Regions from separate parts of the Homo sapiens genome. Here all the other regions are linked to region 1. Evidence: promoter capture Hi-C in human tissues and cell types (Jung and others, 2019). All regions are on one chromosome and are shown on one strand. Each heading gives the region's core, a stretch centred on a gene start or on the middle of the fragment in contact. The rest is flanking DNA. Distances are from core to core; before and after follow the strand shown. Region 1 holds the start of ZNF808 (zinc finger protein 808). Region 2 overlaps ZNF525 (zinc finger protein 525). Region 3 overlaps ZNF845 (zinc finger protein 845). Region 4 holds the start of ZNF845 (zinc finger protein 845). Region 5 overlaps ZNF347 (zinc finger protein 347). Region 6 has its middle 5.9 kb from the start of ZNF613.

Region 1 (4,557 bases), core at 838-3,337:
CCAGACCCTGACTCAAAATATCATTTAATTAATTAAATTAAAAGTATTATGTAATAACAGACAGCGACTTTTTTCCCACTTCTCTACCCCACATCCTCCCAATCCTAGGAAAAGGGAAGACAGTGATTCACAACTGAATAAGTCACTTCCCTCTGGTTGAATAGGGATTCCAAGTGGAACATAACCTCTGATGCCAAGATTTATAGAATGTACATGTTTTATAGACACCAATTTTAAAATTCTCAATCTGTATAATTTAAACAAGTTTTTAGTTATTAGATTATATACAGGGAAGTCAACATGTCACAACTAATCATATCCAATGAACTCATCCACTGATCTAAACCCAGTCTCTCGCCCCATTTTTTCTTTTGAGACAAGATCTCGCTCTGTTGACCAGGCTGCAGTGTAGTGGCATGATCTCAGTTCACTGCAGCCTGGACCTCCTGAGCTCAAGTCATCCTCCTACCTCCACCTCCAGAGCAGCTGGGAGTACAGGTGCACACGATTATGCCCCGTTATTTCCTTTTTTTTTTTTTTGGCAGAGATAGGGGTCTCACTATGTTGCCCAGGCTGGTCTCGAACTCCTAGACTCAAGCAATTCTCTTGCTTCAGTCTCCTAAAGTGTGGAGACTACAGGCGTGAGCCACTGTGCCTAGCCCCCCTTTCTTCATTACTGCGCTTCCCTCCCTAATTCTGTACATATCTCTCATTCTCCCCCTTCTCTCTCTAGCTCTTGTTTTCTTTTCTTTCTCCCTGGGATTCTGCTCTTCATTTTGTACCCCTCTTCTCTTCTGCTGTTTATCCCCCTTCTTCCCTCTATTCCTTCTCTTCCATCTCTTCTGCTCCATCCTCGCAACTTATTTAACCTCTTATTGCTCCTTCTCCCCAATCTTTCAATCGTCCTCAATCTCCATCTATTTCTGCCTCTTCACCCATCTCTGCGCCTCCTCTGCTCTCCCTGTTAAATTCTCTCTTCCCTGATATACTCCCCTGTCCCCACTCTGTGTCACCCCAGATCCCCAGGTGTCCTCCCTGCTGTGTTTCTCCCTCGGTTCTCCTTGACACCAGCACCACTCTGCTCTGTCTGCCCTGGCTCCAAATCCCTCCCTCTCTCCCTCACTCTGATGAGCCTCCCTCTTTGCTGCCACTCTCCCTACCTTGCCGTCCTTCATCTCTGTGTACATCTAGCTTTTCTCTACATTTCTCCAGTTGCTTTTCTCCACCTGCTTTTCTAGGTATTTTGTTGCTTTCTTTTTCCACTTTCACCATATCTTGGCATATCCCTCACCAATCCTCTATTTTGCCATCTGTTATGGGCCTTTCTTATTCTTTCTCTGTCTCAGGTTTTCTACTGCTGTCTGTCTCCTGATCCCTTCGGCCCACACAATCGCAGGAGGGTTTGGAGTAAGACGCCTGCATCCCGGAGGAGCGCGTTTTCCAAGGGCTGGAGCTCGGCAGGCAAGAAGACCCCATGTCACAGGACAGGGCCCTGCGTCCTTCCCAGTGTGGGTTCAATGGAAGCGGTGACTGCGGAGGAGAGACCTGGGGAGCCGCAGGCTCTGGCACGAGTAGGGAGGTGGGAGGAGGGGGGACGGCGCCTTGGGAGAAGGATGGGGTCTGCAAGATCCCAGGACCAGGCAGAGGACGCGGCCTCCCTGGGACTGGGGCTGCGGCGCGACGCTCCAGGGGCCGACGAGGGGTGGCTGGGAGGTGCGCCCCGGGCAAGAATCCACCTCGTGGGTGAAGACTTTAAATAGCGCGAGGAGGGAAGAGTCAGAAGAAGGTTTTGAGCAGAAAAACTACGCAATAGAAAGTGTATACATTGCCCTATAGCAGACAGACCCGGGACGGGACCAGCCTCCAGACGACTTTAAACCCGAAAGGAAGCGACACCCGGCCTCTCACTGGGCTGTCTCAATTTGCTCTGGGCGAAGGAAGACGGGCGAGAATTTCCAGGTCTGTGGGGACCCCACGTCCCAGGGACAGAAGCGGCGGGGACCTGGGAAGCGGAGACTTAATGCAACACAGAGCAAAACTCACCATGGCGACGTGACCTTCACTCCACCCGATCCGCTTCCGGGTTTGCGTTAATCTCCGCGCGCAGGACGGAAGCCAGGCCTGGGCGGGAGGTGGGAGGAGGTGGGCGGGGCCTGGGCGAGGTAGCGGCGGGGCGCGAGGCGCTGAGACCTTGCCCTTTAGAACCGGCAGAGGGCGGGGCCGGGGCGGGGCCGGGGCGGGACTTGCGCGTCTTTCAGCCTCTCTCCTAGCGTCTCTGTTTTTAGGTTGTGGAGGCGAGAGCGCCAGAAAGTCTGAGGCATGATTCCAAAGCCCTGGAATTGTCTGGAACCGGGATGCAAACTAGAATGTGAAATGCAAAGCCCTGCCTGGGCGGCATGTACGATGTCATGGTGACGGCCCACGGAACAGAATAGATGTCCTCTCCCTTTCTATCTCCATTCACTAGGGAGGGAGAGTCCACCCTGAGCTCAGCTTCAGAGACTTCCTTAAAGCCACCGCCAGGGGTGCGGGACGGAGTGCTTAGGCCAGGAAGGAGTGAGGTCACCACCTGCTGCTTAAACACAGCAGAGGCGCGGGGGCGGGAGCCTCAGGTCCCAGCTACTCAGGAAGCAACGGAGAGAATTGCTGAGCCTGGGGTCCCAAGCCAGCCTGGGCGACAAAGTAACACCCACTGCGGCAGGTCTCCCTTCCTAGTCTCTCTCTCTCTCTTTCCCTTTTTTTTTTTTTGGAGACAGAGTCTCACTCCGTCGCCCAGGCTGGAGTGCCGTGGAGTGATCCCAGCTCACTAGAACTTCCGCCTCCTGGTTTCAAGCGATACTCCGGCCTCAGCCTCCCGAGTAGCTGGGACTACAGGCATGCGCCACCATGCCCAGTTAATTTTGTATATTTAGTAGAGACAGGGTTTCACCATGTTAGCCAGGCTGAACTCCCGACCTCAGGTGATCCGCCCACGTCGGCCTCCCAAAGTGCTGGGATTACAGGCGTGAGCCACCGCGCCCGGGCCTTTTCCCTTTTTAAAAAAAAAAAAAAAACTTTTTTAAATAAAATTTTTGATGGTGTGACATAGGGATCCAACATTACTCTTTTCCATGTGGATATCCAGTTAGTTGTCCCAGCACATTTGTGGAAGAGATCTATTACTTTATTATTATTATTATTATTATTACTATTATTGAGACACAGTATTTCTGTTGCCCAGGCTGGAGTGCAGTGGCGAGATCTCAACTCAATGCAGCCTCTGCCTCCTGGGTTCAAGCGATTCTCCTGCCTCAGCCTCGGGAGCAGCTGGCATTACAGGCGCGTGCCACGATGCCCGGTTAATTTTTGTATTTTTCATAGAGACGGGGTATCACTACGGTGACCTGGCCGGTATCGAACTCCTCACTTTAAGTTATTTGCCTGTGTCAGCCTCCCAAAATGCTGGGATTACATGCGTCAGCCAACATGCCTGGCCCAAGAAATATTCTTTACTTTGCTTTTTAAATGTTGACAAAATATAATTGAAAACTAAAAAATATTATCCCAAATGAGAAATCATCTCCACGACGATAACAGAGAAAGAAATAAAAACCATTTTGTTAATAAATAAACCTTAGGACCGGGCATGGGGGCTCACGCTTGTAATCCCAGCACTTTGGGAGGCTGAAGCAGGCGGATCACGAGGTCAGGAGATCGAGGTCATCCTGGCTAACATGGTGAAACCCCGTCTCTACTAAAAATACAAAAAAATTAGCCAGGTGTGGTGGCGTGCACCTGTGTCCCAGCTGCTGGGGAGGCTGAGGCAGGAGAATGGCGTGAACCCAGGAGGCGGAGCTGGCAGTGAGCCAAGATAGCACCACTGCACTCCAGCCTGGGTGACAGAGCAAGACTCGGTCTCAAAAAAAACAAAAAAAAAAAATCAGCCGGGCGTGGTGCCCAGCGCCTGTAGTCCCAGCTACTCGGAGAGGCTGAGGCAGAAGAATGGCGTGAACCCAGAAGGCGGAGCTTGCAATGAGCCGAGATCGCACCATTGCACTCTAGCCTGGGCGACAGAAGAGATTCCGTCTCTAAATAAATAAATCAATAAGCCTTGACCAGAATGTGATGGGAAATAGAGGCAAACAGCTAAGAGGTTGAAAAGAGAGAAAGAAACTTCACTGTTCTATACAACCCATTAAGGACATATTTTCAAGATAAACACTAATCAGTCCTCAGGGAAGAGGACTTGACAACACCCTTGGTCGCACATAGTTCATCCTGGCTCTACTTGGTAATGGAGGTGACCATCTGTGTCAGCTAACTAGCTTCATCCCGAGGGAGGGGAAGAAACCCTAACCCATGTCTTTTTGGCAAGTTTGAGTTTTACAACATGGCGACAGGTGCCCTCTCTGGTCAGGCGCCTACCATACGACAGAAATTGATGTCAGCAGTAAATAATAAAATTTAAAATATATGATTAAGTACAGAGTTAATGTGAACACAAAGCTTGAAGAAAGCCACCTGGAAACATCAACTCCAAATAAATGGGATCAGCGTTCCAAAGTAGAGACGTTAAGG
Region 2 (4,557 bases), core at 1,243-3,742, 850 kb before region 1:
TCTATGATGACGTGCAACGTGTGCTTGTTGATTGAAAACCTCGCCACATTCATTACGCTTGTTTCTCTCCAGTATGAATTGTTTTATGAATTACAAGGACTGAATTGTGATGGAAGGTTTTGCCACACTCATTACACTTGTAAGGTTTCTCCCCAGTGTGAATTGTCTTATGAATTACAAGGACTGAATTGTGAGAGTAGGTCTTGCCACACTCATTACACTTGTAATGTTTCTCTCCAGTATGAGTTCTATGATGACGTGCAAGGTGTGCTTGTTGATTAAAAACCTCGCCACATTTATTACACTTGCAAGCGTTCTCTCCAGTATGAAGTCTATGATGACATGCAAGCTTTGCTTTGCGATTAAAAACCTTGCCACATTCATTACACTTGTAAGGTTTCTCTCCAGTATGAATTGCCTTATGAATTACAAGGGCCGAATTTTGACTGAACATCTTACCACACTCATTACACTTGTAAGGTTTCTCTCTAGTATGAATTCTCCTATGACTTTCAAGGTTTGATTTGAATCTGAAAGCTTTATCACATTCTTCACATTTGTAAGGTTTCTCTCCAGCATGAGTTCGCCCGTGAACTGCAAGGTATGAACGATGTCTGAAAAATTTGTCACATTTATCACACTTGTAAGGTCTCTCTTTATTATGGATTCTCCAATGATTTGCAATAGTTGTAGCATTACTGAAGACGTGGTGACAATCATTACATTTGTAAAGTTTCCCTCTGCCATGGATTGCTTGATGGTAAATAAGCGCTGACTGCCTATGAAAGGTTTTGCCACACTCATTGCACTTCTAAGGTTTCTCTCCAGTATGACGTCTATGATGGCATGTGTTAACTCCTTACTGAAGGTCTTGCCACACTCATTACACTTATAAGATTTATTTCCAGTATGAAGTCTATGATGGCGTGTAAGGCATGACTTCTGACTGAAGGTCTTGCCACACTCATTACACTTGTACGGTTTCTCTCCATTATGAATTCTCCTATGTCTTTCAAGATTTGATTTGTATCTGAAAGTTTCATCACATTCTTCACATTTGTAAGGTTTCTCTCCAGTATGAAGTCTATGATGGCATGTAAGGGATGATGTATGACTGAAGGTCTTGCCACACCTATTACACCTGTAAGGTTTCTCACCAGTGTGAATTCTCCTATGTCTTTCAAGGTTTGATTTGAAACTGAAAGCTTCATCACATTCTTCACATTTGTAAGGTTTCTCTCCACTATGAAATTTATGATGGTATACAATGGATGACGTATGACTGAAGATCTTGCCACAATCATTACACTTATAACATTTCTCTCCAGTATGAATTTTCTGACGTATTTCAAGATTTTATTTGAAACTGTAAGCCTTGTCACATTCTCCACACTTGCAAGGTTTCTCTCCACTATGAAGTCTACAATGGCAGGTAAGGGATAACTCCTGACTGAAGGTCTTGCCACACTCATTACATTTGTACAGTTTCTCTCCATTATGAATTCTCCTATGTCTTTCAAGACTTGATTTGAAACGGAAAGCTTCATCACATTCTTCACACTTGTAAGGTTTCTCTCCAGTATGAAGTCTACGATGGCATGTAAGGGTTGACATATGACTGAAGGTCTTGCCACAATCATTACACTTGTATGGTTTCTCTCCAGTATGAGTTATCCTATGACTTTCAAGGTTTGATTTGAAACTGAAAGCTTTGTCACATTCTTCACATTCGTAAGGTTTCTTTCCAGTATGAATGCTACGATGGCATGCAAGGTATGACTTCTGACTAAAGGTCTTGCCACACTCATTACACTTATGTGGTTTCTCTCCAGTATGAATTCTCCTATGTCTTTGAAGGGCTGAATTGTGTCTGAAAGCTTTGTCACATTCTTCACATTTGTAAGGTTTCTCTCCAGTATGAAGTCGATGATGATATGTAAGGGATGACATCTGACTGAAGGACTTGCCACACTCATTACACTTGTAAGGTTTCTCACCAGTGTGACATCTACGATGGCGTGCAAGGTATCGCTTCCGAATAAAGACCTTGTCACATACATCACATTTATATTGTTTCTCTCCTAGATGAATAATCTGATGTTTCCTTAAGAGTGAGCTATAATTAAAGGCTTTGCCACTCTCAATACATTGGAAAGATTTTTCTCTCATGCGTACTTCCTGTCTTTGTGTGAGTAATGAATAATTCAGAAAATTATCCCCATAGTTATTAGATATATGGGTTTTGGGCCTACAAGAAATTCTTTGGGCTGTTGAAACCGAGGAAGCATCGTTGATAGACTTCTCCACTTGATTATTAATTTTCCCTTTGGGCTGAAATATGTGGAGTTCAGACAGATGTGAATGAAAGCTTGATCCAAGCTGATATTTAATAGGCTTGTTTCCAGCATGCCTGTGATCATATTGCTCTGTACTACCCATCAATTTTTTGATTTTTGTCATGGGTGCTTCATGGCCATTTCTTTCATCTTCTTGCCACTGAAACTCAAAGTTATGAATATCTTTCTCAATTTCCTGGAAGGAAAAATCTCCAATGTGATGACGTTCATGTCTTTGCAATGTCCCTGTGTGGATCACTTCTGTATTGCCTTGTGCTGTTGATGAGAACTCCTTCATTGTGCATTTGGAAGAGATACCTACAAAATATAAACACTAATAGGTACACAAAAGACAATACTGATTTTAAACTTCCCAAACATGATCTTCAAAGTTTAGGAACACAAAATCGTAAGATTCTTTAATAAATAAAGGGCGATTACATGTGCTTCAAATTATTATTATGAAAGCTTATTTCCAATATCATGACAAAACACTGAAGGGCACAAACATGTGTAAGCCTAAAATAAGGAGTATTTTTCCACTGTGACCCTAAAGTGTCTAACAGTTTGCAAAAGACATATCACTGTCACATCAATGAAAAGTATATATTCTTCATATTTACAGCATACTTACTGTATACAAATAAATACTAAAGGACCACACAATATAATATACTGGTAAATAATCCACAGCAAGCTCATGTAAGGATAACCAAAATCAATGGAAATTCTGTATTGTTAAATAATCATAGCACTGAGAAGATAAGAAAAGTTTACAAAATTTAGCAAGGCATGGTGGTGCACGTCTGTACTCCCAGCTACTCGCAAGGGTGAGGTACAAGAATTGCTTGAACCCAAGAGGCAGAGGTTGCAGTGAGCCGAGATCGCACCACTGTACTTCAGCCTGGATGACAAAGTGAGACTCCATCTCAAAAAAAAAAAAATATTTTTCTGAATAACTGTCATAAAATTACCTATATCCATGCAGAAAAGGCATATTGTAACATTTAAAATTTTTTTTTTATTTTTGTATTTTTGAGACAATGTTTCACTGTGTCACAACAGGCTGGAGGGCAATGGCCTGATCTCAGCTCACTGCAACCTCCACCTTTTGGGTTCAAGCCATTCTCCTGCCTCAGCCTCCTGAGTACATGGGATTACAGGCACATGCCAGCATGCTTGGCTAATTTTTGTATTTTTAGTAGAGATAGGGTTACATCATATTGGCCAGGCTGGCCTTGAACTTTTGACCTCAAGTGATCCACCCGCCTCAGCCTCCCAAAGTCCTGGGATTGCAGGCGTGAGCCACAGCACCCGCTGGCACTTTGTGACATTAACTAGTAAACTGTGTCAGTTATATTGCATACCACATACCGAAAAGCTTTATGTAAAATCATAAAAATGAATTGGTAAAATAACTGTAACGCATAAAACCAGCAAGCAAATCATAAGTACATTTATACAAACTGCAGAATTCTAAACAATTCCCTGTTAAGAAAAAAGCACAACTTCTACTTACCACCAGCACACAATATAAGAACTGAAATACATGTTAAGATCACTACCTTCTGATGTATGAGGTCAAAAAAATATGCAGCATTATAATGAATAAGAATTCACTAACAGCCGGGTGCAGTGGCTCATGCCTGTAATTCCAGCACTTTGGGAGGCCGAGGTGGGAAGACCATGAGGTCAGGAGTTCAAGAATAGCCTGGCCAACGTGGTGAAACCATAACTCTACTAAAAATACAAAAAAATTAGCTGGGTGTGGTGGCGGGTGCCTGTAATCTCAGCTACTCAGAAGGCTGAGGCAAGAGAATCGTTTGAACCCAGGAGGTAGAGTTTGTGGTGAGCCAAGGTCCCACCACTGCACTCCAGCTTGAGTGACAGGGTGAGACTTCGTCTCTAAGAAAAAAAAAAAGAATTGACTAATAGTGCCGGAGGGTGCAATTATGATGTCACAACTACATTTATGAAACAGCCAGGCAATACAGCAATTCTATATATATATATACATTGCCCTATGTATCTAGTTCACTATGCATAAAATATAAAACATAGAATGTGTACTGGGAAAATTTATAAACTGAGATCAGAGAAAACATTGTATGAAACAAATTAAACAATAAAAACATAAATAAGATGATGCAGGCTCCCTGGTCTGAATGTTTGTATTGGCCAAACGCCATGTTCAGAGTTCTTATTCTCCAATAGGATGTTC
Region 3 (4,557 bases), core at 524-3,023, 830 kb before region 1:
GAGATCAGGGCTCACTTCAGCCTCAAAATCCCTGCTTCAACTGATCCTCCCACTTCAGTGCCCAGAGTAGCTGGGACCACAGCAGTGCACCACCACACCTGGCTGACTTTTTTTACTTTTAGCAGAGAAGAGGTCCCCTATGTCGCCCAGGCTGGTCTTGAATCCCTAGGCTCACGTCACCCACCTGCCTGGGCCTCTAAAACCGCTGGGATTACAGGCCTGAGCCACTGCGTCTGGTCTCATCGTAAATTTGATGTTTCTTCTTGTTTTAACAGAATTTGTATTGCTGTGATAGAGGTTCTTTTCAAACTGATGTCTTATCCTTCTGAGTGCCTCAAACTAGAGCCTGTTCAGACGTTATAACAAGTTTATACTGGTTTATTTTGGTACAAAAAGTGTGAAATTTATGCACAAATTTTTCATAATATGTATTTTTCCATGAACTTCTTGAAGACCCTTATACTAGCAAACTGTATTCAAGAGGATATAAAAAGGGATTGTAAACATCCAAGTGCTACCTATTCATGGGATGCAAGGATGGTTCAACATACTCAAATCAATGGGATACACACTTGCACAGAATGACAGATAAAAAACACATTATCTCAATAGATAGAGAAAAAGCATTTCACAGAACTCAATATTCATTCTTCGTAAAAATCCTAAACAATATAGGTAGAGTTTTACCTCAAAAATATAAAAATCATCCATGAAATGACCACAGCTGAAATAACCAATGAAGGAAAATGGAATGGTTTTCCTGTAGGATATCACATGATGCAAGAATGCTCTCACCCCTGATATTCAATAAATACTGGCTGTCCTAGGCAGAGCAATTAAATAGCAAAAGAAATAAAACTCATCCAAATCAGAAAGACAGAAGTAAAATTACATTTGTTGGGGCCGGGCTCATGGCTCACACCCATAATCCCAGCAATTTGCAAGTCCGAAGTGGGCGGATAATGAGGTTAGGCGATCTAACATATTCTTTCAAGTTCTCTTCAAGGTACTCACCATGTTGGCCCACCATCTGGGCCAACATGGTGAAACCCCGTCTTTACTAAAATAAAAAAAATAAATAAATTAGCTAGGTGTGGTGACATGCGCCTGTAGTCCCAGCTACTCAGGAGGCTGAGACAGAATTGCTTGGACGTGGGAGACAGAGGTTGCAGTGAGCAAAGATCATTCCACGGCACTCTAGCCTGGCGACAGAGAGAGACATTGTCTCAAAAAAAAAAATTATTTCCTTGTAGATGATACGACATTCTATATAGAAAATCACTGGCTGGGTGCGGTGGCTCACACCTGTAATCCCAGAACTTTGGGATGCTGATGGGGGCGGATCACCTGAAGTCAGGAGTTCAAGAAAAACCTGGTCAACATGGTGAAACCCCGTCTCTACTAAAAATACAAAAAAATTATACGGACATGGTGGCAGGCACCTGTAATCTCAGTTAGTAGGCAGGAGAATCACTTAAACCCGAAAGGCAGAGGCTGCAGTGAGCCAAGATCGTGCCATTGTACTCCAGTCCAAGTGACAAGAGTGAGACTCCTTCTCAAAAAAAAAGAAAAGAGCCTGGGTAACAGAGTGAGACTGTCTCAAAAAAAAAAGAAAGAAAATCACAAAGAATCAACCAAGATTTTACTGATACTAATAAACCCACTCAATGTATTTGCAGAATACAAAATCAGCACCCAAAATTAGTTGAATTTCCTTACATTAACAATAAATAATGTTTAAAGAAACTTATGAACACACTTCAATTTGCTATGAAACTTAATACTTACAAATAAACTGAATTAAGGAGGTGAGAAGCTTGTACCTTGAAATCTACATTGATCAAAAAAACTAAATAGACATACAACCCATATTGATGGATTGGAAGTCTTAATATTGTTGAATGATTATACAAACAAATGTGATTTAGATTCAACAGATACCCATAAAAACCCGTAACAGTTTTTATTAAAGAAACAAAATACAGGGTGGGAAAAGTGACTCATGTCTGTTGGCCAGTCTGGTCTCAAACTCCTGACCTCAAGTGATCTATTGGTCTTGGCCTCCCAAAGTGCTGGGATTACAGGCGTGAGCCACCCCGCCTGGCCCAATCTTCTTAACATAAACACTTTAATGTCAATTAATGCTTGAACTCAATGTTAAGTCAATTCAAACTCAAGTCAATGCTGAATTGACTCTAATGCCAATTAATGCTTGATGGTTTGCTATACTCATTGCATTTGGAACAATCATCTCAAAAATGAATTTTCTGATGTTCCTTAAGGGGTGATCTCAGACTGAAGACCTTGCCACACTGATGACATTTGTAAGATTTCTGTCCAGTATGGATTCTCTGATGTCTAATTAGGTGTGAACGTGAAGTAAAGGCTTTGCTGCAATCATCATACTTGTGAAGTTTGTCTCCTGTATGAAGTCTCCTGTTTTGCATAAGATGAAGCTAGACTGAAGACCTTGCCACAATCATGACATTTGTAAGGTTTCTCTCCAGCATGAGTTCACCGATGAACTGCAAGGTATGAACAATGTCTGAAAAATTTGCCACATTTATTACACTTTCAAAATCTCTCATTATGGATTCTCCAATGATTTGAAACGGTTGTAGTGTTACTGAAGACTTTGTGATAATCATTACATTAGTAAAGTTTCCCTATACCATGGATTGCCTGATGGTGAATAAGTGTTGACTGCCCACTAAAGGCTTTGCCACACTCAGTACACTTGTAAGGTTTCTCTCCAGTGTGACTTCTAGTTTGTTGGGCCAGGTGTGAATCACGCCCAAGATTCTTGTCACAAACTCTTACATTTGTAAGCTTTCTCTCCAGTATGAATTCTCCTGTCTTTCAAGACTTGATTTACAACTGTAAACTTTGTCACATTCTTCATATTTCTAATGTTTCTTTCCAGTATGAATTCTATGATGACGTGCAAGTTTTGCTTTTCGATTAAAAACCTTGCCACATTCATTACACTTGTAAGGTTTCTCTCCAGTATGAATTGTCTTATGAATTACAAGGACTGAATTGTGACGGAAGGTTTTGCCACACTCATTACACTTGTAAGGTTTCTCTCCAGTATGAATTCTATGATGACATGCAAGGTGTGCTTGTTGATTAAAAACCTTACCACATTTATTACACTTGTAAGGTTTCTCTCCAGTATGAAGTCTATGATGACGTGAAAGGTTTGCTTTTCTATTAAAAACCTTGCCACATTCACTACACTTGTAAGGTTTTTCTCCAGTATGAATTGCCTTATGAATTTCAAGGGCTGAATTGTGACGGAAGGTCTTGCCACACTCATTACACTTGTAAGGTTTCTCTCCACTATGAATTGCCTTATGAATTACAAGGGCTGAATTGTGACGGAAGTTCTTGCCACATTCATTACACTTGTAAGGTTTCTCTCCAGTGTGAATTCTAGTATGTTGTGCCAGGTGTGAATCACGCCCAAAAGCTTTGTCACAAACCTTACATTTGTATGGTTTCTCTCCAGTATGAATTCTCCTGTGTTTTTCAAGGCTTGATTTGCGACTGAAAACTTTGTCACATTCTTCACATTTGTAAGGTTTCTCTCCAGTATGAAGTCTAAGATGGCATGTAAGGGATGACTTCTGACTGAAGGCCTTGCCACACTCATTACACTTGTAAGGTTTCTCTCCAGTATGAATTGCCTTGTGAATTATAAGGGCTGAATTTCGACCGAAGGTCTTGCCACACTCATTACACTTGTAAGGTTTCTCTCCAGTATGAAGTCTACGATGGCATGTAAGGTATGACTTCCGACTAAAGGTCTTGCCACATTCATTACACCTGTAAGGTTTCTCTCCAGTATGAATTCTCCTATGTCTTTGAAGGTTTGATTTGAAACTGAAAGCTTCATCACATTCTTCACATTTGTAAGGTTTCTCTCCACTATGAGTTCGCCAATGAACTGCAAGGTATGAACGATGTCTGAAAAATTTGCCACATCTATTACACTTGTACGATCTCTCTTCATTATGGATTCTCCAATGATTTGCAATGGTTGTAGCATTACTAAAGACTTGGTGACAATCATTACATTTGTAAAGTTTCCCTATACCATGGATTGCTTGATGGTAAATAAGTGCTGACTGCCCACGAAAGGCTTTGCCACACTCATTACACTGGTAAGGTTTCTCTCCAGTATGAAGTCTACAATGGCGTGTAAGGGATGACTTCCGACTAAAGGTCTTGCCACATTCATTACACTTGTAAAGTTTCTCTCCAGTATGAATTATCCTATGTCTTTCAAGGTTTGATTTGAAACTGAAAGCTTCATCACATTCTTCACATTTGTAAGGTTTCTCTCCAGTATGAAGTCTACGATGGTATACAAGGGATGATGTCTGACTGAAGGTCTTGCCACAATCATTACACTTGTAAGGTTTCTCTCCAGTATGAATTCTCCTATGTCTTTCAAGGTTCGATTTGAAACTGAAAGCTTCATCACATTCTTCACATTTGTAAGGTTTCTCTCCAGTATGAAGTCTACGATGGTATACAAGGGATGACATCTGA
Region 4 (4,557 bases), core at 2,058-4,557, 810 kb before region 1:
TGGAGCCACAGTGAGGAGTTGGGCTTTCAACATTTGTCCACATGGACCAGAGGTGCCTTGAGGGAAACATGCACTTAATAGCTCACAGCTCAAGATTTTAACAAATGACAACAAAACTGAAAAACAGGCTAACTCGTTAAACTACATTTTGATGTTAAAGGTTTCCAATAAATAATAAAGACTAGAAAGCATGCAGACCTCGATCTGAACTGGACGCAACTAATTTCAAACAGAAACTATTTGGAAATTGTTTTTTAAAAAATCGAACAAATTCAGATGTCAATGGGAAAATAACTGAACAATGTGAGCTGGTTATAGGATGCTGCAAATGCATCTTTCAGAAGTGATTATGTATTAAAAAAGAAATATTTAAAACTAAGATTTATCTCAAAGTAAAACTGCAAAAAAAAAAAAAAAAAAAAGAAAGAAAGAAAGGAAGGAAGAGGAACCAGAAAGAAAAAAAAGAAAATATGTTACACAACGAGAACAAAAGCACTTTTGATGTGCCTTTTGCTTTCATTTTTTGGTGGTGGTGTTTGTTTTTTTGAGATGAAGCCTCGCTCTGCCCCCCAGGCTGCAGTGCAGTGGTACCATTTCGGTTCACTGCAACCTCTACCTCCCAAGTTCATGTGATTCTCATGCCTCAGGCTCCCGAGCAGCTGGAACTACAGATGCATGCCACCATGCCCAGCTTACTTTTTTAGTATTTTTACTAGACACAGGGTTTCACCATGTTGGCCAGAATGATCTCAAACTACTGACCTTAGGTGATTGGCTCCCAAAGTGCTGGGATTACAGGCATGAGCCACCACGCCCAGCTTTGATGTTCCTTTTTTTTTTTTTTTTGAGATGGAGTCTCGCTCTCGCCCAGGATGGAATGCAGTGGCGCAATCTTGGCTCACTGCAACCTCCGCCTCCTGGGTTCAAGTGATTCTCCTGCCTCAGCCTCCTAAGTAGCTGGAATTAGAGGTGCATGCCACCATGCCCAACTAATTTTTGAATTTTTAGGAGCAATGGGATTTCACCATGTTGGTCACGCTGGTCTTGAATTCCTGACCTTGTGATCCTTGTGATCCACCTGCCTCCGCCTCCCAAAGTGCTGGGATTACAGGCATGAGCCACTACGCCCTGATGTCCCTTTTAAAAAGTACTATGGGCCAGGCGTGGTGGCTCATGCCTGTAATCCCAGCATTTGGGGGGCCAAGGCGGGTGGATCATCTGAGGTTGGGAGTTTGAGACCAGCCTGACCAACATGGAGAAACCCCGTCTCTACTAAAAACACAAAATTAGCTGGATGCAGTGGCTCATGCCTGTAATCCCAGCTACTTGGGAGGCTGAGGCAGTAGAATCAGTCTGAACCTGGGAAGCGGAAATTGCAGCGAGCCGAGATTGTGCCATTGCACTCCATCCTGGACAAGAGTGAGATTCCATCTCAAAAAAACAAAAACAAAAACAAAAACAAAAAACAAAAAACGACTATGTAGGCCAGGCACGGTGGCTCCTCTCTGTAATTCCACCTGTAATCCCAGTAATTTGGGAGGCCAAGGCAGGACGATCCTTTGAGGCCAGAATTGAGACCAGCCTGGGAAACAGTGAAACCCCATTTCTACAAAAAAAAAATACAAAACCTAGCCGGACTTGGTGGCTCACGCCTGTGGTCCCAGCTACTCAGGAGGCTGAGGTAAGAGGATCGCTTGAGCCTAGGAGGTCGAGGCTGCAGTTAGAGGAGATCACACCACTGCACCCCAGCCTGGGCGACAGAGCCAGACCCTGTCTCAAACTATAAATTAATTAATTAAATTAAAATTATTACATAATAACAGAAAGTGATTTTTTTCTCCCACTTCACTGCCCCATTTCCTACCTCACCATGGGAAGAGGGAAGAGAGGCTCTCACAATTGAATTAAGTCACTACCCTCTGGCTGAATAGGGATTCCAAGTGGAAGCTGACCTCTAATGCCAAGATTTACAGAATGTATGTGTCTTATAGATAGGAATTTTAAAATTCTCAATATCATCTGTATAATTTAAACAAGTTCTAAGTTATTAGATTATATAAACAGAAGTCAACATATCACAACTAATCATATCCAATGAACTCACCCACTCATCTGAACCCAAAGTCCCCCACCCCTTTTAATCTTTTGAGACAGGCTCTGCTCTGTTGACCAGGCTGGAGTGCAGTGGCATGATCTCTGCTCACTGCAGCCTGGACCTCCTGGGCTCAAGTGATCCTCCTGCCTCAGCCTCCAGAGCAGCTGGGATTACAGGTGTGCACCATCACGCCCAGTTAAATTTTTTTTTTTTTTGACAGAGATGGGGGGGGGGGTCTCACTATTTTGCCCAGGCCGGTCTTGAACTCCTGGACTCAAGCAATCCCTCTGCCCCAGTCTCCTAAAGTGCTAGGATTACAGGCGTGAGCCACTGCGCCCAGCCCCCCTTTCTTCATTACTGTGCTTCCCTCCCTAATTCTGTACATATCTCTCATTCTCCCCTTCTCTCTCTAGCTCTTGTTTTCTTTTTCCCTGGGATCTGCTCCTCCTGCTGTTTTTTGTTTTGTTTTGTTTTTTTCATTTTTGCTCTCTCTTGGCAAATCCCTCACTCATCCTCTACTTTGCCATCTGTTATGGTCTTTCTCATTCTTCTTTTCTCTGTCTCAGGTTTTCTACTGCTCTCTCTCTCAGTCTCCTGATCCCTTTGGCCAACACAATCACAGGAGGGCTTTGGAGTAAGACGCCTGCATCCCGGAGGAGCGCATTTTCCAGGGGCTGGTGCAGGGCAGGCAAGAACACCCGGTGTCATAGGACAGCCCCGGGCACCTCCCCAACGCGGGCTCAGGGTAAGCGGTGACTGCGGTGGGGAGACCTGGGGAGCATAAGGGCCTGGAACGAGGAGGGAGGTGGGGGGCGACGGCGCCTTAAGACAAGACTGGGAGGCGCCAAGGGCGGGAATCCGCCTCGCGGTAAGGACTTTAAAAAGTGCGGGTCGGGAGGAGTCAGAAAAAGGTTTTGAGCAGGGAAACTACGCGATGGGAAGTGTATACATTGCCCTATAGCAGAAAGATTCGGGAAGGGACCATCCTCAGGGCGACTTTAAACCCAAAAGGAAGCGACCCCTGGACTCTGACGAGGACGTCTAAATTTGCTCTAGGTGAAGGAACACGGGTGAGAATTTCCAGGTCTATGGGGACCCCACGTCCCAGGTACAGAAGCGCCGGGGACTTGGGAAGCGCAGACTTAACACAACACAGAGCAAAACTCACCGCTGCGGTGGGACCATCACTCCATGCGATCCGCTTCCGGGTTTGCGCGAATCTGCGCGCGCAGGACAGAAGCCAGGCCTGGGCGGGACCCGCGGGGAGGTAGGCGGGGCCTGAGCGAGGTAGGGGCGGGGCGCGAAGCGGAGAGACCTTCCCCTTTAGAATTGGCAGAAGGCGGGGCCGGGGTGGGACCCGTGCGTCTCTCAACCTCGCTCCCAGCGCCTCTTGTTTTCGAGCTTTGGAGGCGAGACCGGACAGGAAGGCTGAGGCATGATTCAAAAGCCCTGGAATTGTCTGAAACGGGGATGCAAACTAGAATGTGAAATGCAAAGCCCTGCCTGGGTGGAACATACGATTTCATGCTGACGGCCCACAGAACAGAATAGAAATCCTCTCCCTTTCTATTCTCCATTCACTGGGAAAGGAGAGTCCACCCTGTCCTCAGCTTCAGAGATTTCCCTAGGGCCTCCCCCTGGGATGCGGGACGGAGTGCTCAGGCCAGGGAGGAGTGAGGTCACCACCTACTGCTTAAACACAGCAGAGATGCGGGCGCGGGGCGAAAGCCTGAGGTCCCAGCTACTCAGGAAGCAGTGGCAGGAGGATCGCTGAGCCGGGGGGGGGGTCCAAGTTAGCCTGGGCGACAAAGTAACACCTCCTCCGGCAGCGCTCCCTTCCTCGTCTCTCTCTCTCTCCTTTTTTAAAATTTCTTTAAATAAAATTTTTGATTTTGTGAGTTAGGGATCCAACATTATTCATTTTCACGTGGATATCCAGTTAGTTGTCCCAGCACATTTGTGGAAGAGATCTATTACTTTCATTTTTATATTTAGATTTTTCTTTTCTTTTCTTTTCTTTTTTGAGACAGAGTATTTCTCTGTCACCCAGGCTGGAGTGCAGTGGCGAGATCTCGGCTCACTGCAACCTTCACCTCCCGGGTTAAAGTAGTTCTCTTGCCTCAGCCTGCCAACTAGCTGGGATTACAGACGCGCGCCACCAAGCCTGGCTAATAGTTTTGTATTTTTAGTAGAGACTGGGTTTCACAACGTTGGCCAGGCTGGATTCGAACTCCTGACGTCAAGTGATCCACCTGCTTCGGACTCCCAAAGTGTTGGGATTACAGGCGTTAGCCACCGCGTCTGGCCAGGAAAACTCTTAGAAGTTGCGCCTGCATACCACTGGACTCAGCTTGCATGACCACATTCCTTTCAAGGCTCAGAATTATTTAAAGATCCATACATTTACATTGGAATTATTTGATGTTTGAAATATTTAATTTCCTACCGAGATACGGGTACTG
Region 5 (4,557 bases), core at 1,141-3,640, 620 kb before region 1:
CTTTCCCATTAGAGAGGGTAGAACCACGTTCTTGTTTTGCCAATTATTATTTTTATTTTATTTTTTTTGAGACGGAGTCTTGCTCTGTCGCCCAGGCTGGAGTGCAGTGGCATGATCTCAGCCCAATGCAAGCTCCGCCTCCTGCTTTCACGCCATTCTCCTGCCTCAGCCTCCCAAGTAACTGGGACTACAGGCGCCCGCCACCATGCCCGGCTAATTTTTTGTATTTTTAATAGAGACGGGGTTTCACTGTGTTAGCCAGGATGGTCTCGAACTCCTGACCTCGTGATCCACCTGCCTCGGCCTCCCAAAGTGCTGGGATTACAGGCGTGAGCCACTGCGCCCGGCCTGTTTTACCAATTATTAAATATTCTATTTATTGTATTTATTTATTTTGAGACAGAGTCTCACTCTGTTGCCCAGGCTGGAGTGGTGCAATCTCGGCTCACTGCAACCTCTACCTCCCGGATTCAAGCAATTCTTTCGCCTTAGCCTCCAAAGTAGCTGGGACTACAGTTGCATGCCACCATGCCCAGCTAGTTTTTATATTTTTAGTAGAGACAAGGTTTCACCATGTTGGCCAGGCTGGTCCCAAACTTTTGACCTGAAGTGATCAGCCCACCTTGGCCTCCCAAAACGCTGGGATTACAGGCGTGAGCCACCATGCCCGGCCCTTCAGTGAATGTTTTGTTGTGACATTTTAGCCTGCAAATTTTGAAAATTTACATGTTTTCATGTTAGGAAAGATGTATAGCTCATTCTACATCTTTATTGGAGCCTTCTCTGAATGAGGACAGAGTGGATGTTTTACCTTTTCACTGTTGTTATTACTAAACTGTGTATATGTGACGTGAGTGCGTGTTTTTTTATTAAGCACACATCATGATTTTTTTTTTTTTTTTTTTGAGACAGAGTCTCACTCTGTCACCCAGGCTGGAGTGCAGTGGTGCAATCTCGGCTCACTGCAATCTCTGCCTCCCGGGTTCAAGCGATTCTCCTGCCTCACCCTCCTGAGTAGCTGGAATTACAGATGTCCACCACCACACCCGGCTAATTTCTGTATTTTTAGTAGAGATGGTGTTTCACCATGTTGGTCAGGCTGGTCTCGAACTCCTGACCTCGTGATCCGCCCTCCTCGGCCTCCCGAAGTGCTGGGATTACAGGTGTGAGCCACTGCACCCAGCCCACACATCATGATTTTAAATAAGTTTTGTGTTTTTTAGCAATTCAAATTGTATCTTAAATATTTTCTGTGTCCTTAAATTTGTTCTCAGCTATCACATTAATGATTTAATAGTAAGAATAGTTACATATTATGGGCATAAATAGATGTGTGTATATATGTAATTACCTTTTATGAAGTTCCATGTTGTTATTCATGAACTTGTTTCAACTTTGCTCATTTAGATCCTTTTCATGTTCTTTTACTTAACTATTTGATTTTTTTTTTTTTTTTTTTTTTTAGACAGTCTTGCTCTGTCATCCAGGCTGGAGTGCAGTGGCACAGTCTCGGTTCACTGCAAGCTCCGCCTCCTGGGTTCATGCCATTCTCCTGCCTCAGCCTCCTGAGTAGCTGAGACTACAGGTGCCCGCCACCATGCCTGGCTAATTTTTTTGTATTTTTTTAGTAGAGACGGAGTTTCACCATGTTAGCCAGGATGGTCTTGATCTCCTGACCTCGTGATCTGCCTGCCTCGACCTTCCAAAGTGCTGGGATTATAGGCATGAGCCACCACGCCTGGCCAACTATTTGATTCTTTAGGTTTAATTCTTATTCCCAGACACCTGGATTCAGATGCTTGCTCTGACATTTTAGCTCTTTGTCTTGACGCAAGTTTCTTAGAGTGTCTGTCATATACATTTATCTGCTAGTAAGATGGGAACAGATCTTTCTCTCATGGGCTATCATATTCATATACAAGTTAGTACATGCAGGACATTTATTTAGAATAATGCCAGACTGAGCACAGTGGCTTGCGCCTGTAATCCCAGCACTTTAGGAGGCCAAGGCGGGTGGATCATCTGAGGTCAGGAGTTTGAGACTAGCCTGGTCAACATGGTGAAACCCCATCTCTACTAAAAATACAAAAATTAGCCGGGTGTGGTGGTGGGTGCTTGTAATTCCAGCTACTTGGGAGGCTGAGGCCGGAGAATCGCTTCAACCCAGGAGGCAGAGGTTGCAGTGAACTGAGATCATGCCACTGCACTCCAGCCTGGGTGATAGAGCGACTCTGTCTCAAAAAAATAAGTAAGTAAGTAAATAAATAAATAGAATAATGCCTTGCACTTGGGAAGTGCTCAGAAACATCTGTCATTGTTATTGCGATGATCACAGTTTTTAGATTCTGACCTTTCTTTAAAGTCACTGTACACATTTTCATCTCGTAAGACATCACTCATGCTCTAGATCATCTAAATACTGAATATCACTTGGTGTGTTAGACATAATATATAGCACTTCAATAAAGATAACCCGGTGTTGGTTTTTTATTTGTATATTTGTGTATTTTTTGTATTGTCTACAAAACTGAGAAATCAACACTGATTTAAAGACTATCATAACCTCTTATAGAAGAGTATAAGAAGACAGAATTAAGGAAACATTCTGCCCAAAAATACCTGTGTGTGTGAGGATGTGGTGAAAACAGACCCAGTTTCTCCTACTGTACTCTCACAACGGAAAACACATCTGTGATCCCAGATGTCCTGGGTTTTCCCACACACACCAAGGGAGCAATTCTGCACTGGACACCAGCTGAGTGACCTCCTATTCAGTTCAATTCTGACACTGTCTACCTGGACATAGCATCAGATCCCACAGGTTGAGGGCTCAATCCAACAAGAGTGTGCCCACTTCAATGCCAGTTGCAAACACAGATGGTCTCTGCTTCTCACTGACTGGCTTATACATCATGAATTCCCATGACCCCCTCCTCAGGTTTGATTAATTTGCTAGAATGGCTCAGAGAAATCAGGGAAACACTTTATTTATATTGACCCATTTATTATATAGGATATTACAGAGTATACAGATGAACAGCCAGATGTAAGCAGTCTATTGGGTAAGGTATGGGAGAAGGAGCATGGCGTGGTGGTGCATGCCTGTAATCCCAACTACTTGGGAGGCTGAGTGCTGTCTTTGGTGGGGGTCGGTGGGGGCGTCCTCAGAGCCTCCGTGTGTTTCCCTATCCTGAAGCTTGTTCAGGCCCTGTCCTTTCGGGTTATTATGGGGGCTTCATTAAGTGGGCACGATTGCTTACATCTTTGGCTACTGGTGATCAGCCGAGCCTTCAGCCCCCATCCCCTCAGGGTAAGTTGGGGGATGGGGCTCGAAGTCCCAACTCTGTAATCCAGCCTTGGTCTTTCTGGTGACCACCCCGCCATTCTGAAACTATCTTGGGGCCTCCAGCCACCAGTCATCTCATTAGCTTACAAAGGCACTTATCACTCCAGAGATTCCAAGTGAGATGTATGTCAGGAAAGGGGGATGAAGACCATATGTATATTTTATTATATCACAACTTGGATATCGGCCCACTTACTCCAGTTTAATCTATTCTGTCTTCTCATTTTATGTGAAGATTGGAGCTTTTCCTTATATCCCCCTGGTGGATGTGTTTTTCATTTTAGGGACAGGTGACATTCAGGGATGTGGCTATAGAATTCTCTCAGGAGGAGTGGACATGCCTGGACCCCGCTCAGAGGACTTTGTACAGGGACGTGATGTTGGAGAATTATAGGAACCTGGCCTCCCTGGGTGAGGATGACTTTCTTCCAGAAGTCAGGATCTGCCCCTGTGTATCTTTTCATTTTCCATGTGGCTCTCCTGGGAGCTCATGCATTGCTTGGCTGAGACTGAAGCTGTGTTGACTGAAAAATGAAAATCTCCATAATGTGGAAACTGGATTTTAATTTTCCTCTTCCTGATGTCACTGGAGGGTTTCAGGACTTTTAAAATATCCAATTCCCTGTTTTCTATCCCCATGCTTTGATTCAGTGGTTTTGGGATGAGAGCTATATATTTGCATATTATAGTGTTTCCTAACAATTTATAAAGAAGCATTTAGTGGATGAATTTTTGAAGTGTTTTTTTAGATACAGCTGTAAAGTCCTCCCTCCTCATGTAAACATAGGACTGGGACTCTGGAAAATCTACAGCCCATTGTTTTCCTTTCTTTTCATAAGCAGGAATCTCTTGTTTTGACCTCAGTATTATCTCTATGTTGGAGCAAGGGAAGGAGCCTTTCACTTTGGAGAGCCAAGTACAAATAGCAGGAAACCCAGATGGATGGGAATGGATCAAAGCTGTGATCACAGGTAAGAGTTCAGATGGGTAGAGAAAATGCCGTTTATTAAATAGTGTTTGGGAAACTCTATGCAAATCTGAGAGTTCTGTGGGAAAACAAGTTTGAATTCTGTGACCTCAGAACAGAAATCTTTATTTGCCCCCTTTTGTCTATCCTTTAGACTTGTACTAGTTTATCCTTTCACCTTCCAGTGGTGCTGCAGCTCAGACAAAGGCAAAGTCTTTATCATGATGGACAACACTGTTTTCTA
Region 6 (4,557 bases), core at 706-3,205, 610 kb after region 1:
GACTGTTTCCCTATTCCAAGTAATCTGTTGCTATATAGCAAGCCAGCCCAAGACCTAGAGATGTGAATTTACTTTTATGATCTGCATGGATTCACTGAGTCAGGAAGTGAGACATGGTGATGGCTTGTATGTTCTGGGGATCGCAAGATCTGGGGTTCCTCAGGTTCAATAATTTGTTAGAATAACACAGAGCTCAGCAAAACTGTCATATTCATGATTTTATTTTATTACATAGACTGGATACAGTTAAAATCAGAAACAGAGAAAGGTGTGTAGGGCAGGGTTTGGGAGATGCTGTGCAGAAGCTTTGAGTTTTCCTCTCTCTGTGGAGTCATATGGACAATGTTTGATTGTCCTAGCCATGATGTGTGACGACAGGCATGATGTATTGCCAGTACAGGAAGCCCACTTGAGCCTGGGTGTCCAGGGTTTTTATTTGGCTTTAGTTATATGGGTGAGGCTGAGCACATGAGTGGCTGACCTTATTCTTCAGCCCTTTCAGAGGCCACCATAACTACAGTGTGGCCCAAGGCTTCCATCATACATTGTTAGCATAGACGATCTTGTGTGACCCAAGGCTCCCAGTAAACAAAGACCCTCATCGGACAATATATTCCAACGGCTTAGAGTAGGAGTGTGCAGTCTTTTGGCTTCCCTGGGCCACACTGGAAGAAGAATTGTCTTGGGCCACACATAAAATATACTAACACTAACAATAGCTGATGAGCTTAAAGAAAAAAGAAAAAAAACTCAAAAAATCTCATAATGTTTTAAGAAAGTTTACAAATTTGTTTTGCATTCAAAGCCCTCCTGGAGGCCAGGCACAGTGGCTTATGCCTGTAATCCCAGCACTTTGGGAGGCTGAAGTGGGCAGATCACTTGAGGTCAGTAGTTCCAGACCAGGCTTGCCAATATGGTGAAACCCCGTCTCTACTAAAAATACAAAAAACTATCTGGGCATGGTGGCACATGCCTGTAATCTCAGCTACTTGGGAGGCTGAAGTAGGAGAATTGCTCGAATGTGGGAGAATCGCTTGAACTTGAGAGTTGGAGGTTGCAGTGAGCTGAGATTGTGCCCCTGCACTCCAGCCTGGGCAACAGAGTGAAACTCCATCTCAAACAACAAAAACAACAACAACAACAACAAAACAAAGCCCTCCTGGGCTGTGTGCACCACCACCAACAACAACAAAACAAAGCCCTCCTGGGCCATGTGCACCCCATGGTCCGCAGGTTGGACAAGCTTGGTTTAGAAGTTACCTGCCAGGTATAGGGAAGGGCTGAGCCTTTCTTTGGAATGTTCAGTTTCTGGGTAACCCAGACTCGCTCTGTTTATCCTTTACTGCACAGCTTGTCTTCACACCATGATGTCTTGAATCTCAACTGGAAGACTCAGAAGGTTGGGGACTGGAATCATCTGAAGGCTTCTTCCTCTCTGTATCTGTGTGCCAGGCTGGGATTACTTGAAAACTAGGCTCAAGGAGGCTGCCAGCCAGAGCACCTGTGTGTGACCTCCACATGTGACATGGATGGGCTTCTCACAGCATGATGCTGGCTCTGAGACAGCCAAGATGCGGCCACAGGGCCTTTTCTGCCTTAGCCTCAGAAGTTATGTTGTGTCACCTCTGTTGCATTCTGCAGCTAGCTCAGTCGGTAGAGCATGAGACTCTTAATCTCAGGGTCATGGGTTCGTGCCCCATGTTGGGTGCCAGATGAAGGAGGCCTGCCCCTCCACACCTGTGGGTATTTCTCACAAGGTGGAGACGAGAGACTGAGAAAAGAAATAAGACACAGAGACAAACTATCGAGGAAGAAAAGTGGGCCCAGGGAACCGGCACTCAACATACGGAGGACCCGCACCAACACTGGTCTCTGAGTTCCCTCAGTATTTATTGATTACTATCTCTACTATCTCGGTGAGGGGGATGTGGGAGGACTATAGGGTAATGGTGGGAAGAGGGTCAGCAGGAAAACGTGAGCAAAGGACTCTGTGTTATAAATAAGTTTAAGGAAAGGTGCTGTGCCTTGATATGCACATAGGCCAGATTTATCTTTGACTTTACACAAACATCTCAGTGAAGTAAAGACAGTATTGCCCCCACCATGTCTCACCTCCAGCCATAAGGCAGTTTTCTCCTATCTCAGTAAATAGAATGTACGATCGGGTTTTACACTGACACATTCCATTCCCAGGGATGAGCAGGAGAGAGATACCTTCCTCTTATCTCAACTGCAAAGAGGTCTTCCTCTTTCACTAATCCTCCTCAGCACAGACCCTTTATGGGTGTCAGGCTGGGGGACAGTCTGGTCTTTCTCTTTCCATGAGGCCATATCTCAGGCTGTCTCAGTGGAGAGAAACCTTGGACAATACACAGGCTTTCTTGGGCAGAGATCCCTGTGGCTTTCTGCAGTGCATTGTGTCCCTGGGTACTCGAGACTGGAGAATGGCCATGACTTTTACCAAGCATACTGCCTGCAAACACATTTTTACCAAGGCACATCCTGCACAGCCCTAAGTCCATTAAACCTTGAGTCAATACAATACATGTTTCTGCAAGCATAGGGTTGGGGCTAGGGTTACAGATTAACAGCATCTCAAGGCAGAATAATTTCTCTTAGTACAGATCAAAATGGAGTTTCTTTTGTCTTCCTTTTTCTACATAGATGCAGTAATAGTCTGATCTCTCATTCTTTCCCCCATGCTTTTCTGCCTTAGCCTCGGAAGTTATGTTGTGTCACCTCTGTTGTATTCTGCAGGTACAAGCAAATCACCAAGACTAGCTAGGTTCAAGGGGGAAGGGAATAGGCTCCATCTCTTCGTGTGGGAGTGGCAAGATTTAGCAGAAGGTTTTCTTTGGAATGTGAGATATTATTGTGGTCATCTTTGGGAAATGCAGTCTACCACATGGACACAATAACAAATCGTTTCCTTTTCCCTGAGGAGAAAGCTCCTCTAGAAAAGTGAATATTTCATGTTACTTAAGAAGAAATTTCTTTGATGGGTCATGATATAGATCATATAGAAGTTAGTGCCCCCACAGATAAGCCAGTGGTGTAATACCAAAACCAAACTCAGTGATCAGAGTGCTTCAGGGACCCAGAACAGTGTAGCCAAAGTCCACAGCCTCCTGGGGGTCTGTTTTTATTCAGGGATAAAATGTAGAGATTTTTAAGATGGATGGATTCTATGACCATCATATGGTCTTCCACAAAGAGTCCTCAATATTCTGCTTTTTTTTTTATCAGTGGTTTTCATTTTTTGACCCCAGGTGACATTTGGCAATGTCTGGAGAAATTTTTGATTGTCACACCTGGGAAAGGAGGGTGTGCTAATTGGAGCTAGTGGATAGAGGCTAAGAATGCTGCTAAGCATCCTACAATGACACTACAGTGCCCCAAAATAAAGAATTCTCCAAACCAAAATGTCAATGCCTGTTACAGTCTGTTCCTATGGGATTGAACGAAATGGGACAAATGCAGAAGTGAAGACAAAGACAAAAAGATACATTTTAAAAGAAGGGGTCAGGGGACTCCTTGCTTCTAGTGAGCAAAGACAGCCCTCAGCTTCTACAGCCCTTCATATGTATTAGGTAGAATCAATAGGGAGAGAGAGGTAACGGTTGGTCAGCTGCTTTGATTCATTAGAGGTACACATAATTACTTTCTTTATACAACAGGCTTCAGATGTTCCTATAGATAACCACTGTGGAGCACTCGATTCTGTCACTGTTTGGGGGGGGCCACTATGTAACCTGCCACAATCCCTGGTGGGCTGAACAAAGTGGGGCAAATGCGGGAATAAAAGACGAGACAAAAGAGTATATTTGGAAGAAGGGGTCAAGGAGCACCTTGCCTCTAGTGGACAAAGGCTCTGAGCTTTACACAGCCCTTTGTATTTATTAGGCAAAAGGGATAGTGAGAAGGGGTGTGGAAGAAGGGGTCAGTTGGTTGGTCCAGAGTAGGCTTGCAAGATTGCATTCCTCAAACAACAGGCTCTAGATGTCCCAGCAGATAACCTCAGCGCCAGGGAATGATAGCCGCCAGCAAACTTTCTGTCAGCAGGCACAGTCGTGAGTTTGCCCATATCCTGCATTTGTGATAAACAGTTTGCTGTTTGATCATGTAGCTTCCAGTGGAATGCTGAGCTGATCATGTCCCATGGGCCTTTGGCTCCCTACAAACCACAAGGAACACTCTGCCTGGGGTGTGACTGCTCTTGGCACTCCTTCTGGTGGCAGATGCAATTTGTCAGTTTTCCAACATCCTGCTTTCATGAGAACAGTTTTCTGTTTGCTCATATAGCCTCCAGTGGTATACTGGGTTGGTCACAACCCCCATTTTCTCGGCCTCCAACAAATGCAGATTGAGCATCCCCTATCAGAAATGCTTGGGACTGGAAGTGTTTCAGATTTTAGATTTTTTTTTTTTTCAGAATGCTTGCTTACTTACTTACTTATACTTACTAGTTGAGCATCCCTAATCTGAAAATCCAACATTTGAAATGTCCTGGTAAGCATTTCCTTCAAGCATGACCTTTGTGCATCACCTCAGCCCTAA

What was found. Contacts are between HindIII fragments. The study calls those that stand out against the background at their distance.
Region 2: a contact is called between a fragment that was not itself captured here and the fragment with the promoter of ZNF808 in region 1, in 5 of the 25 tissues and cell types used here (adrenal gland, dorsolateral prefrontal cortex, lymphoblastoid cells and 2 more).
Region 3: a contact is called between a fragment that was not itself captured here and the fragment with the promoter of ZNF808 in region 1, in 2 of the 25 tissues and cell types used here (bladder and dorsolateral prefrontal cortex).
Region 4: a contact is called between the fragment with the promoter of ZNF845 here and the fragment with the promoter of ZNF808 in region 1, in 1 of the 25 tissues and cell types used here (spleen).
Region 5: a fragment that was not itself captured here is called in contact with the fragment with the promoter of ZNF808 in region 1 in 1 of the 25 tissues and cell types used here (aorta).
Region 6: a fragment that was not itself captured here is called in contact with the fragment with the promoter of ZNF808 in region 1 in 4 of the 25 tissues and cell types used here (dorsolateral prefrontal cortex, heart right ventricle, hippocampus and 1 more).

The regions. Positions count from the first base shown.
Region 1 is chr19:52,525,198-52,529,754 of GRCh38, reverse strand. ZNF808 (zinc finger protein 808) reads right to left here and starts at 2,087. Exons shown (of 5, transcript NM_001039886.4): 1 at 2,044-2,087. RefSeq lists enhancers at 1,814-2,641, 2,642-3,468. The HindIII fragment of the contact is 14,459 bases long and covers 1-4,557 here.
Region 2 is chr19:53,378,819-53,383,375 of GRCh38, reverse strand. It overlaps ZNF525 (zinc finger protein 525), which reads right to left. Exons shown (of 4, transcript NM_001348156.2): 4 at 1-2,654. The coding sequence ends at 1,357. Among named protein-coding and RNA genes, the nearest start is that of ZNF765, 14 kb to the left of the region's middle. The HindIII fragment of the contact is 5,110 bases long and covers 1-4,557 here.
Region 3 is chr19:53,351,938-53,356,494 of GRCh38, reverse strand. ZNF845 (zinc finger protein 845) reads right to left here. Exons shown (of 4, transcript NM_138374.3): 4 at 1-4,557. The coding sequence ends at 2,907. It also overlaps the pseudogene LOC107987264. Among named protein-coding and RNA genes, the nearest start is that of ZNF525, 11 kb to the left of the region's middle. The HindIII fragment of the contact is 6,579 bases long and covers 1-4,557 here.
Region 4 is chr19:53,332,499-53,337,055 of GRCh38, reverse strand. It overlaps ZNF845 (zinc finger protein 845), which reads right to left and starts at 3,307. Exons shown (of 4, transcript NM_138374.3): 1 at 3,264-3,307. RefSeq lists enhancers at 2,819-2,908, 3,179-3,228, 3,327-4,191 and a silencer at 3,299-3,518. The HindIII fragment of the contact is 26,552 bases long and covers 1-4,557 here.
Region 5 is chr19:53,148,441-53,152,997 of GRCh38, reverse strand. It overlaps ZNF347 (zinc finger protein 347), which reads left to right. Exons shown (of 5, transcript NM_032584.3): 3 at 3,631-3,757; 4 at 4,189-4,317. Among named protein-coding and RNA genes, the nearest start is that of ZNF347, 8.3 kb to the left of the region's middle. The HindIII fragment of the contact is 9,121 bases long and covers 1-4,557 here.
Region 6 is chr19:51,919,294-51,923,850 of GRCh38, reverse strand. No RefSeq gene overlaps it. Among named protein-coding and RNA genes, the nearest start is that of ZNF613, 5.9 kb to the left of the region's middle. The HindIII fragment of the contact is 6,337 bases long and covers 1-4,557 here.